4 separate regions of the Homo sapiens genome follow, and all the other regions are linked to region 4. Evidence: promoter capture Hi-C in 16 types of primary human blood cells and fetal thymus (Javierre and others, 2016). All regions are on one chromosome and are shown on one strand. Each heading gives the region's core, a stretch centred on a gene start or on the middle of the fragment in contact. The rest is flanking DNA. Distances are from core to core; before and after follow the strand shown. Region 1 overlaps FAM193A (family with sequence similarity 193 member A). Region 2 overlaps FAM193A (family with sequence similarity 193 member A). Region 3 overlaps FAM193A (family with sequence similarity 193 member A). Region 4 holds the start of HAUS3 (HAUS augmin like complex subunit 3).

What was found. Contacts are between HindIII fragments. The CHiCAGO score rates a contact against its expected background, and 5 or more counts as called.
Region 1: a contact is called between a fragment that was not itself captured here and the fragment with the promoter of HAUS3 in region 4, in 2 of 17 cell types (naive CD4 T cells and total CD8 T cells). The highest score is 5.8, in naive CD4 T cells.
Region 2: a contact is called between a fragment that was not itself captured here and the fragment with the promoter of HAUS3 in region 4, in 1 of 17 cell types (M2 macrophages). The highest score is 9.4, in M2 macrophages.
Region 3: a fragment that was not itself captured here is called in contact with the fragment with the promoter of HAUS3 in region 4 in 1 of 17 cell types (M2 macrophages); the score reaches 5.5 in M2 macrophages.

What each region holds. Positions count from the first base shown.
Region 1 is chr4:2,541,072-2,544,102 of GRCh38, forward strand. The region is part of intron 1 of FAM193A (family with sequence similarity 193 member A); the gene reads left to right. Among named protein-coding and RNA genes, the nearest start is that of FAM193A, 5.9 kb to the left of the region's middle. The HindIII fragment of the contact is 564 bases long and covers 1,382-1,945 here.
Region 2 is chr4:2,569,206-2,572,370 of GRCh38, forward strand. The region is part of intron 1 of FAM193A (family with sequence similarity 193 member A); the gene reads left to right. Among named protein-coding and RNA genes, the nearest start is that of FAM193A, 34 kb to the left of the region's middle. The HindIII fragment of the contact is 8,103 bases long and covers 1-3,165 here.
Region 3 is chr4:2,678,994-2,681,869 of GRCh38, forward strand. All of the region lies in intron 13 of FAM193A (family with sequence similarity 193 member A), which reads left to right. Among named protein-coding and RNA genes, the nearest start is that of TNIP2, 76 kb to the right of the region's middle. The HindIII fragment of the contact is 2,461 bases long and covers 23-2,483 here.
Region 4 is chr4:2,240,583-2,243,925 of GRCh38, forward strand. HAUS3 (HAUS augmin like complex subunit 3) reads right to left here and starts at 1,539. Exons shown (of 6, transcript NM_001303143.2): 1 at 1,469-1,539; 2 at 938-1,208; 3 at 1-511. The coding sequence starts at 364. It overlaps POLN (DNA polymerase nu), which reads right to left and starts at 1,539. Exons shown (of 26, transcript NM_181808.4): 1 at 1,469-1,539; 2 at 938-1,208. It also overlaps the pseudogene COX6B1P5. RefSeq lists enhancers at 722-1,223, 830-929 and a silencer at 1,610-1,969. The HindIII fragment of the contact is 3,838 bases long and covers 185-3,343 here.

The sequences.
Region 1 (3,031 bases), core at 414-2,913, 300 kb after region 4:
ACCAGCCTGAGAAACATGGAGAAACCCTGTCTCTACTAAAAATACAAAATTAACTGGGTGTGGTGGCGCATGCCTGTAATCCTAGCTACTCAGGAGGCTGAGGCAGGAGAATCGCTTGAACCTGGGAGGTGGAGATTGTCATGCCAGCTACTCTGGAGGCTGAGGCAGGAGAATTGCTTGAACCTGGGAGGTGGAGATTGTCATGAGCTGAGATTGTGCCATTGCACTCCAGCCTGGGCAACAAAAGCGAAACTCTGTCTCAAAAAATAACAAAAAACAAACAAAATATTTTAATACTTTTCTGATCTTTTCTGTTCCATGTAATCTCATTAATAAAATCTGGGTTATAGTCCACAGAATTAGTTCATTGTGTACTTTTTTTTTTTTTTTTTTGAGACAGAGTCTCGCTCTGTCACCAGGCTGGAGAGCAGTGGCGTGATCTTGACTCACTGCAACCTCCACCTCCTGGGTTCAAGCGATTCTCCTGCCTCAGCCTCCTGAGTAGCTGGGACTACAGGCGCGTGCCACCACGCCCAGCTAATTTTTGTATTTTTAGTAGAGACAGGGTTTCACCATGTTGGCTAGGATGGTTTCTCTTTCTTGACCTTGTAATCCACCCACCTTGGCCTCCCAAAGTGCTGGGATTACGGGTGTGACCCACTGCAGCCTCTCTATTGTGTACTATTGAGTTGTGTGCTGCACCTTGACAGTTGCTTTTACTGTATTTTAAGCTTTTAAAATATGCCACCATCTTTTATGGTATTTTATTTTATTTTTGAGACAGAGTCTTGCTCTGTCGCCCAGGCTGGAGTGCAGTGGCGCCATCTCGGCTCACTGCAACTTCTGCCTCCTGAGTTCAAGTGATTCCTCCTGAGTTCAAGTGATTCTCCTGCCTCAGCCTCCCGAGTAGCTGAGACTACAGGAGTGCACCACCACACCTGGCAAATTTTTTTTTTTTTTTCAAGACAGAGTCTCACTGCGTCACCCCAGCTGGCGTACAGTGGGGTGATCTTAGCTCACTGCAACCTCCGCCTCCTGGGTTCAAGTGATTCTTTTGCCTCAGCCTCCTGAGTAGCTGGGATTACAGGCATGTGCCACCACACTTGGGTAATTTTTGTATTTTTAGTAGAGACGGGGCTTCACCATGTTGGTCTAGAACTCCTGACCTTGTGATCCACATGCCTTGGCCTCCCAAAGTGCTGGGATTACAGGCGTGAGCAACCACGCCCGGCCATTTTTTGTATTTTTAGTAGAGACGGGGTTTCACCTTGTTGGCCAAGCTGGTCTCGAACTCCTGACCTCAAGTGATCTATCTACCTGCCTGGGCCTCCAAAAGTGCTGGAATTACAGGCGTGAGCCACTGCACCTGGCCGATATTTTAAGCTTTTAAAGCTGTCTTTAGTTTTTAAGTTTCTTTGTAAGTATTTTAATAATTGTTCATTAAAGAAACTCTTTATGGTAACTGGGGTAAAATATTCTTGACACAGATCACAGAAAGTCTTAATGTAATTCTGAAGCCTCTGAATTGTTTCCCCACAGATGGTGAGCTTTTTGGAGTACCTTGTATGGTGCAAAATGGCACCCAAAACAGTATCAACCAGAAACAGTGAGTGGTTTCTGGCCCTATGGTTCCCAGGGAGGCTTTCTGAGTCCTGGCAAGCAGCCTCTACACTCCGTAGTCACCAGGCCAGGAGGTGGATAAGAGAGAAGGCCGAGTGGAAGGACTGTCTTGATTTTCAGGAGTGGTCACAGTCCCACTGTCCTGTGTGCGGGACACAGCACTATGTGTTATACCCAGGACCACCTTCATCGAGGTGGCTGCTGAGCCAAAGAGGGTGTTTCTGCATGTGGGTAGCTTCAACAAAGGAGGAGGACCATGGGAGAAGTAGGAAAACATAACTTAGCTTATAGGGTCTTTGACTCAAAACAGAATTCTTATACACAAAGCTTGGGGAACCACAAATTTGTTAGGCTCTGTTCCATGGGCAAGGTATCAACCTTGCGCTACCTCAGTTTTCTTTTCTTTTTTTTTTTTAAATGGAGTCTCGCTCTGTCACCCAGGCTGGAGTGCCCTGGCGCAATCTTGGCTCACTGCAACCTCCGCCTCCCGGGTTCAAGTGATTCTCCTGCCTCAGCCTCCCAGGTCGCTGGGGCTACTGGTGTGTGCCACTATGCCCAGCTTATTTTTTGTATTTTTAGTAGAGACAGGGTTTCATCATGTTAGCCAGGATGGTCTCGATCTCCTGACCTCGTGATGTACCCGCCTCGGCCTCTCAAAGTGCTAGGATTACGGTGTGAGCCACTGCATTTGGCCACTACCTTGGGTTTCTTAATGATAGGGCACCACAGGCTTGGTAGCTCATACCTATAATCCCAGCATTTAGGGAGGCCAGGGTGGGAGGATCACTTGAGTCCAGGAGTTTGAGATCAGCCTGGGTGACGTGGAGAGACCCTCCCCGCCACTGCTCTACAAAAAATTAAAATAAAAATTAGCCACCATAGGGACCGGGCATAGTGGCTCACGCCTGTAATCTTAGCACTTTGGGAGGCTGAGGTGGGCAGATCACTTGATGTCAGGAGTTTGAGACCAGCCTGGCCAACATGGAGAAACCCCATCTCTACTAAAAAATGCAAAAATTAGCCAGGCATGGTGACGAGCGCCTGTAATCTCAGCTACTCAGGAGGCTGAGACATGAGAATCGCCTGAACCCGGGGTGGGGGGTGCAGGGCTGAGGTTGCAGTGAGCAGAGATCACACCATTGCACTTCAGCCTGCACAAAAGAATGAGACATTGTCTCAAAAAAAAAAAAAAAAAAAAAAAAAACCAAAAAATTAGCCACCATACAGCGTATCCTCTGCTTTGATGGTATGATCGTTGTATAAACATGCTGGTATGATTATTATGGATCTTTGGGGTACATGAGGGTGCACTTAGAAGCCTTCCCTGTATTGTAGAAATTGCGACCACGGTGAAATTAGGTTATCATTAACTCTAGTTCATATTTGCCTAGTGACCTGAGGAAATAGGTTG
Region 2 (3,165 bases), core at 410-2,909, 330 kb after region 4:
GGTAATCCACCCTGGCCTCCCAAAGTGCTGGGATTACAGGCATGAGCCACTGCGCCCGGTCCAGATTCTTGTGTAGAGCCAGCTGATCGGAAACCCACGTGAGGGGTTGAGAAAGTGTCATGGAAACTCTGTTGCTAACAGTGGTGGAATATAACCTTCCAAAAATTGGATTTTATTTAGCAGTAATACAAAAGCAGCCCAAAGGTAGTTTATCGAATCCTATTTATTTTATTGTCATATTTAAGCACAGTTGTGCAGATGTGAGTTTGGTGCTATTTGCCATTTTTATTATTATTAAAACAAATTCTTTTTGAGACAGGGTCTTCTCCGTCACCCGGTCCGGAGTGCAGTGGCCGATCATGACTCACTGCAGCCTCAATCTCCCAGGCTCAAGCTATCCTCCTGCCTCTGCCTCCCGAGTAGCTGGGACCACAGGCATGCACCACCACACCCGGTTAATTTTTAAAACTTTAAAAAATTTTTAAAAGCTGGTCTTGCTGTGTTGCCCAGGCTGGTCTTGAACTCCTGGGCTCAAGTGATCCTCCTGCCTCGGCCTCCCAAAGTGTTAGAATTATGATTGTAATCCACTGCACCCAGCTGCTAATTCCATTAAAATAAAATAAGTTTTCATAATTGGTTGGACTCCAGTATTACCTGGAATTTGGTCACAAAGTTACAGATTTTTAGATTGTTCTGGGATTTATATATTTATCTCTAGAATTTTAGGATGGCAAATTGTTGAGGGGGACCATAATTTGATTTCGTCTCATTCAGATGCTCTTGAAGTTTGAACCACACTGTTAGGGTCAGATGCTGGATAAGTCAAATACATCTGGAGGTTTTCACATCTAATAAGTTACAGAAACTGAGAGTATGACTTTTCTTCACTTTTGGGTATCTTCTGAAATTGTGACTGAACTGCTAAATAGCCCAAAAGTACTTCAGAATCCGGGATTCTGGACAGTAGTGAATGTTCGTAGTCTCCACATGCCATTAGTTAAACTCATTGGGCCGGTTTGAATCTGTACTTCCTTGAACAAATCATGGTACCCTTATGTCTCCCTGCAGGGTTGAATTCAGTGTGTTCAGATATCTTCTGTTTGTAAGAAAGCAGTACATTCTATGAGTTACTGTGGATTTGGTAACCCTAACTCTGAATCTAAGTTCAGAGAGTCATTCTGTGCTAAAGAAGCAACTCTAAATCGCTGCAGTGAGCTTTGGTGACATGGCTCAGGAGATACTGAAATAAACCAAATCTCCTTATGTTTTTTTCCTCCATATATCTTTAACTTTTCCCAAGGTTCCATGAACTGTTACCCTCCTTGCAGAGGTCATGCCACATCTTTCGTTATAGGACACAGCAGTAAAGGGCCCTCTAGCCTGCTCTCTTGACTGGAATAATGGGAACTCATTTCTCCCCATCATAGTGACACAGGAAATAAGCCTTGCCATGTCTAGGTGCAAGGCTGTGGGCAGTTTAGGAGACAGTGTCTCTGTAGGGGGACCAGTTACCCCATGGGTACAGGCCTTGGTGAGCTCCTCCTCAGATCAGGGCTAGGCTAGTTTTCAGGCCCCACTCCCCGGCCTGGGAGCTTTTGTGATTTAGGAGAATGCGTATTTACTGCAAGTCTCACTCACAGATGGGCCTTACTCAGGTGGTCATGTATCCTGGGTAGTAAGTCAAGCACTTTGAGTACCGAACACACAGGGCCTATTTCTCTTCTGCCGTACACTTCCTCCCCTACCTCTGCCTGTTGTATTCAGGGTTCACACACTCAGTTTCGCTTACGGAGTGGGTGGGGGTGTGGGCAGCTGTCTGTGCTGTGGCTCTCTCCCTATGGGGGACTTCGCAGAGCCTCTTTCCTGCCTTGTCACCTTACCCATAGGCTCTGCTCTTTAGTGACTCCCTCCGCGGCCCCAGCCCTTCCTCCTGGCAGCTTCCAATGATGTATTACTGGCAGTGTTGCTTTGTCTTTAGTTCACATTTCCCGTAAGTGGACCAAATTATGTTTTTATGACAGGCCTTGTTGTGGGTCCTGAAGAGAACAGCTGTATTGTACAGGCTGCCCTGTACCCCATGGATTAATTATCCATTCTGAGCCCTGGAGGAGAGGGCAGGTTCTAGAGTACCAGGCAGATGTGGCACCACCTTGCCAGCAGCTCGGAGACTGGTACTTGTTGGCACAGTGAACTTCTGTTTGGTTATGTATAAAAAATTTAGATTTGTACTAGGGTTTTGGAAGTGAATGGCTTCTGAGGTAGAAGTCCTATTTTATTTAAAGATGTCTTTGTGGAAAAGGGTTTTGAGAGGTATGTGTAGAGTGAAATTCTAGAGCAGAACTTTTTTTTTTTTGACACAGAGTTTCGCTCTGTCCTCCAGGCTGGAGTGCAGTGGCATGATCTTGGCTCACTGCAAACTCTGCCTCCTTGGTTCAAGCGATTCTCTCACCTCAGCTTCCCAAGTAGCGGGATTACAGGAGCGTGCCACCAAGCCCAGCTAATTTTTGTATTTTTAGTAGAGACAGAGTTTCGCCATGTTGGCCAGGCTGGTGTTGAACTCCCGACCTCAGGTGATCCACCGGCCTCAGCCTCCCAAAGAGCTGGGATTACAGGTGTGAGCCACAGCGCTCTGCCTAGACCAGAACTTTTTGTTTACTACTTTCTAAATCTTGGTCAAAGGCCAGGCGCTGTGGCTCACGCCTGTAATCCCAGCACTTCGAGAGGCTGAGGCTGGTGGATCATGAGGTCAGGAGATCAAGACCAGCCTGGCCAACATGGTGAAACCCCATCTCTACTAAAGATACAAAAAATTAGCTGGGCATGGTGGCATGTGCCTGTAATCCCAGCTACTTAGGAGGCTGAGGCAGGAGAATCACTTGAACCCAGGAGGCGGAGGTTGCAGTGAGCCGAGATTACACCACTGCAGTCCAGCCTGGGCGACAAGGCCAGCCTCTGTGTCCAAAAAAAAAAAAAAAAAACTGGGTGTGGTTGTGTGTGCCAGTAATCCCAGCTATTGGGGAGGCTGGGGCAGGAGAATCGCTTGAACCTGGCAGGCAGAGGTTGCCGTGAGCCAAGATCGCGCCACTGGACTGCAGCCTAGGCGACAGAGTGAGACTTCATCTCAAAAAAAAAAAAAAAAGTCCAAGGTAACATTTCAAGTTTTCT
Region 3 (2,876 bases), core at 3-2,502, 440 kb after region 4:
TTGTTCCTGTTATTTAAGGAAAAGCTTTCATTCGTTCACCATTGTTTGCTGTGGGTTTTTCATATATGGCTTTTATTATGTTTTGGTAGTTTTCCTTCTATTCCTAGTTTGTTGGGTGTTTTTGTAATGAATGGGTGTTGAATTTGTCACATGCTTTTTCTGCACCAGTTGTGATGATCTTTGGCTTTTTCCAGTCTGTTAATGTGGCATATTAACATTGATTACTTTTTATACATAGAATTATCCTTGCATTCTGGGAATGAGTCCCACTTGGTCATGGTGTATGAATCTTTTAATATGCTGCTGAATTCAGGTTGCTAGTATTTTGTTGAGGATGTTTGCATGAATGTTCACAAGCGATACTCGTTTGTAGTTTTCTTTCTTTTTTTTTTTTTTTTTTTTTTTTGAGACAGAGTTTTGCTCATTACCCAGGCTGAGTGCAGTGGTGTGATCTTGGCTCACTGCAACCTCTGCCTCCCGGGTTCATGTGATTCTCCTGCCTCAGCCTCCAGAGTAGCTGGGATTACAGGCATGCACCACGAGGCCCGGCTAATTTTGTATTTTTAGTAGAGACAGGGTTTCTACATGTTGGTCAGCTGGTCTCGAACTCCCGACCTCAGGTGATCCACCCGCCTCGGTCTCCCAAAGTGTTGGGATTACAGGTGTGAGCCACCGCGCCCGACCCTGTAGTTTTTCTTACAGTGTCTTTGGCTTTGGTATGGGGATATGCTCAGGACATGAGTTAGAAAGTGTTCCCTCCTCTTCAGTTTTTTGGAAACTTTGAGAAAGATTGGTATTAATTCTTTAAATATTTGGTAGAATTGACTAGTGAAGCCATCAGGTTTGGGGCTTTTCTTTATTGGGTGATTTTTTTTTTTTTCTTTGAGACGGAGTCTTGCTCTGTCACCCAGGCTGGAATGCAGTGGCACAATCTCCACTCACTGCAACCTCCGCCTCTCAGATTCTAAGCGATTCCCTGGCCTCAGCCTCCAAAGTAACTGGAACTACAGGCACATGCCACCACACCCAGCTAATTTTTGTATTTTTAGTAGAGACGGGGTTTTGCCATGTTGGCCAGGCTGGTCTCAAACTCCTGACCTCAGGTTATCCACCCATCTTGGCCTCCCAGAGTGCTGGGATTACAGGCGTGAGCCACTGCGCCCAGCCTATTGGGTGGTTTTTGATTACCAGTTCAATCTCCTTACTAGTTACAGGTCTGTTCAGACTTTTCTATTTCTTTATGATTTCGTCTTGATAGGTTTTGTGTTTCTAAAAATTTTTTCATTTCATCTGTTTTATCCAGTGTGTTGGTGTACAGTTGTTCGTAATACTTTCTTTTTTCTTTGAAACGGCATCTCACTCTGTCACCCAGGCAGGAGTACAATGACATGATCATAGCTCATTGCAGCCTCAAACTCCTGGGCTCAAGCATTCCTCCTCCCTTGGCCCCCCAATAGCTGGGATTACAGGCATGTGCCACCACTCCCAGCTAATTTTTTTTTTATTGTTTTGGACTCTTCCAGAGAGAAGACAGGGTCTCACTATGTTACCCAGTCTGGACTGAAACTCCTGGGCTAAAGCAGTCCTACTACCTCAGCCTCCCAAAGTGCTGGGATTATAGGCATGAGTTACCAAGCCCAGCCAATACTTACTTACTTTTTTTTTTGAGACGGAGTCTTGCTTTGTCACCTAGGCTGAAGTGCAATGGCACCATCTTGGCTCACTGCAACCTCTGCCTCCCAGGTTCAAGAGATTCTCCTGCCTCAGCCTCCCATATAGTTGGGATTACAGGCGCCCACCACCATGCCCGGCTAATTTTTGTATTTTTGGTAGAGATGGGGTTTCACCATGTTGGTCAGGCTGGTCTCGAACCCCTGACCTCAGGTGATCCACCCACCTGGACCTCCCAAAGTGCTGGGATTACAGGCGTGAGCTACAGCGCCGAGCCCAGCCAGTACTTTCTTATAATACCTTTTATGTTTTTTTCTTAATTTTAATTTAATTTTCTGCTTTTTAGAGATATGCTTGCTCTGTTGCCCAGGCTGGAGTGCAGTAGCACGATCATAGCTCACTGGAGCCTCGAACGCTTGAGCTCAAATGATTCTCCTGTGTTAGCCTCCCAAGTAGCTATGATTACAGGTGTGCGCCACCACTCCCAGCCCCTTTTATTTCTGTGTAATCAATAATAATGTCCCCACTTTCATTTCTGATTATAGTAATTTGAGTCTTTTTTTTTTCTTACTCCATCTCACTAAAGTTTTGTCAGTTTTGTTTCTCTTTTCAAAGAACTATATTTTGGTTTCATTGATTTTTTTTTTCCCCTATTGTTTTTCTATTCTCTATTTCATTGATCATTAATCTCTGCTCTAAATTACCTTTCTTCTGCTAGCTTTGGGTTTAGATTGTTCTTTTTCTAATTCATTAAGATGTGAAGTTAGGGAGGGTTTTTTGTTTCATTTTATTTGTTGTTGTTATTGAGACAAAGCTTACTCAGTTGCCCAGCCTGGAGTGTAGTGGTGCGATCTTGGGTCACTGCAACCTCGACCTCCTGGGCTCAAGCAATCCTCCTGACCCATAGTCTCGTAGCTTGGACTACAGGTGTGTGCCACCATGCCCAGCTATCTATCTGTCTGTCTATGTATTTATTTACGTAGGGACGGAGGTCTCACCATGTTGCCCAGGTTGGTCTCAAACTCCTGGGCTCAAGCAGTCCTCCTGCCTCAGCCTCCCAAGGTGCTGGAATTACAGGCATGAGCCACCACGCCTATCCTAGTTAGGTTGCTGATAGAGATCTTTCTTGTTTTTTGATGTGTTTGTAGCTATACATTTTGCTCTTAGTGCTTGCTTTCACTGCGTCCCGTAAGTTTCAGTATGTT
Region 4 (3,343 bases), core at 289-2,788:
TATTACGTCGCTGAATTTTTAGGTTCTTTAATTTCAGTAGAGTTTGAACCTCATCCTCTAATTTCTCCAGCTCTTTATCATCCAGTCTAGGTGTCTTCAAATCAGAAGTTTTACACGTTTTAAGAGCTTCATCCAATGCCGCCCCTTCTAGAATAGGCTTGCCTGATTTCTGAAGAATGCTAAAAGCTTCCAATTCTCTTTCAGACAACACGTTCTGTTCATTCACATTCCCACAAAACCACTTCAGAAACGATTCATCTTCAACGCCCTCAAACAACCAGTCAAAGTCTTCTCCATTAAGATTATCAGCTTTGGGATAACCAATTTTTTTTAATGTTTCCACAAACTCATTTCCACAACTCATGGTTTTAACTACCCCAATTTTGTTGTATCTGATATGGGTTTACGGTGTTGATTTTTAGAAAATAAATCCAAGCAGAAAAAAAGCTACGTTTTATACCAAGTCCACAGAGAAGGGAAAATATATTTTTAGAATCTATAATGATTCCTCCTAGGGGGGAAGAAAACAAGTATTAGACCACAAATATGACGACAGTGTTTTTAAAAAGAAGACACAGACAAATATCACATGATATCCGAGAGCGGGATAAATGACAGGTAGTCGTAGCTGCAATGTTTGATGATGATAAAGAGAAACAGAAACAATTAGGCTAGTTCTCAGAAAACCGCAACAGTAACGAAAAGTAATTAACAAGAAAGTGGATCTATTTGGATCCATTTTATCTTTTTTTCCAAAGATAAAATGGTTTAAAATGCATTACACTTTATAGAGCAGCATTTGTTTTTAATTCAAAATAAATGGATCCAAACAAACCCAAGCCACCAGGAGGCTAGGCAGCCTCTCTTCCCTGCCCTCCGTACGTAAGAAGACGCAAATAAGCATGGCACATCTTCTGAAGATCAACTAAATATTTACCTCAACGTCTCGCCGGGCAAGGCTCCACCTCCAGAGTCCACCACCGCGACGCGGAGAACAGCAGGAGCAGCAGGGAAGCGCGCGGCCACAATTAAGGGTGCTTCGGGCCGGCCTTCAGCCAGCGCTGAGGCAGCCCCGACGCCAGGGCCGCGCGAACCCCAGAGGCAGCGGCAAGCCCCAGGGATCCGCGGCCCCAAGGCCGCGATACACCAGACGCGCCAGCGGCAAAACCTTCCTTCGGAGGGTCACCCAGCTGTGACACCTAAGCACGCTGACAAAACAAACGCACAAGCCCACCGAATCGCCGTCGACACCGAGCTGCAGAAGACGGGGGTGACAGGCCCCGCACAGCCCCCGCCCCAGCTCCTCGCCCAGCGGACCGGGCCCTGATCCCCGGGCAGCTGCTGGAGCACCTGGAAGGAGCCCCCAGGAGCGCAGGAAAAAAAAGAGGCACCTGGGTGCAGACGGGGATCGCGGCCACTCCTCCAGCCCCACACCCCTGCGCCCAGAACCGAGGCCCGCGTCAGTCACCTCAGGAAGTTCCGCTTGCTTCTCGCAGGAGCCCGCCGCCACCGCCCTCCGTGCCCCGCGCGCCTCGCACTGCCTCACGGGAGCGCCTGGACGCGCGCAAGCGCACAAGGCGACGGCGTGGTCGTGGGGGATGACTGTTTGCGCAGGCGTAGTGTCAAAAGAGGCGGAGTCGGCGAGGCTGGACTATGGGGTGGAGCTGAGCAGGCGGCGCTCGGCCCCCGGCCGCTGCGGGCATCCTGCCTCCTGGGCGGGGCGCAGGGCAGAGAGAGGCGGGGTCTGGGCCGGGAAGGGCGGGGACAGGGCCTGGACAGGGGCGGGGCCTGGGCAGGGGGCGGAGCCTGGGCAATGAATGGGGTGCAGAGGGGTGCAGAGGGGTGCGGTGGGGCGCCCTCTGGGGAGCTGAAGCTGCGGGCCTGCTCTCAACGGAGCCGTCAGTTGTGCTTCAGGCCTGCCCTGCCCCGTACTTCAATCTAGACCCTCTGAAGGCACTTTTGAATGGTACAAAGAGCAGCGCAGGTTGGTGGTTGGGAGACAGGCTGGAGCCCGGCGGTGATAGCGCTCGCCCCCGAGAGAGACGAGTTCCCGGAACATTCACAGCAGCCCGACCAATGCCTGGTACATTTTAAGGGTTAGGGATTGTTCGCTTAGAGTCTTTTACAATGAACTTTATTTTGCAAAAACACTTAATTTCTAATCCCTCACCAGAACACTATGTAAAAGCTGACTTCTGGCCGGGCGCGGTGGCTCATGCCTGTAATCCCAGCACTTTGGGAGGCCGGGGGGGGGGGGGGGGGGGATCATGAGGTCAGGAGTTCGAGACCAGCCTGGCCAAGATGGTGAAACCCCATCTCTACTAAAAAATACAAAAATTAGCCGGGCGCGGTGGTGGGCGCCTGTAATCCCAGCGACTCGGGAGGCTGAGGCAGGAGAATCGTTTGAACCCAGGAGGTGGAGGTTGCAGTGAGCCGAGATCACGCCACTGCACTCTAGCCTGGGCGACAGAGCAAGACTCCGTCTCAAAAAAAAAAAAAAAAAAAAAGCTGACTTCCTCCACAATTCCCTTTTCAAAATGTTAGAAATAAACGGAATGGCCTGAGTTAAATACATCGATATATTTAACTCAAGGAGGATGGTACACCATTTCCAAAGAGGATGGCAGTCAGTGAAAGATGACTGAAACGGGATTGCTAAATTTCATGTGAATCTGGCTGATGCCCTACAGCCCAGTGAAACCAGACCTCTCTATTGGACAGAATTCGTTTGCATCTCTACCAAACAAAAATCCTTTGCCACTCCTCAGTCTTCCACAGGTTAGCAGGGGCTTTGGTCATGGGTAAATATAATAGTACTCCCTCCCTTCAGCGTCAAATGACCCTAAAGGTGGCTTGTTAGACAATGTCCTAGTCCAGGGTGACTAGGTAGAAGTCGTTTGGATAGTTTTTCTTAATATTTTTAAGGAGAGAAATAAGAATGTTCTAAGGCAAATATTGTAATCTGATCGAGTCAAAGATATTTCCTATTCATTCTTCACTTGTTTCACGTTTTTTTCCTCCTCTTTTAAAAGTCAATAAGGCCTAAAATGATCTGAAAAACAAACATGATGGGAAAAAATTCAAAGAGTGGTGCCCAATCTGCAGGCAAGGAAACCAGGGATGCTGGAACGGGGAGGCCTGGTGGGAGGACCCTTGCAGCCCAGGGTTGGAGGTTGGGGGTGTGCATCAGGGGGCAGAGTTGAGCCAGTTTGGACAGGAGGAAGTGGGAGCTGTGCAGGCAATGCCTTCCAGAAATGTTGCTGATGAGGCAAAGACTGGGTGGGAGGAGTGTGACACAGAGAGAGAGATACAGAGAGACAGAGAGAGACAGAAACAGAGAGAC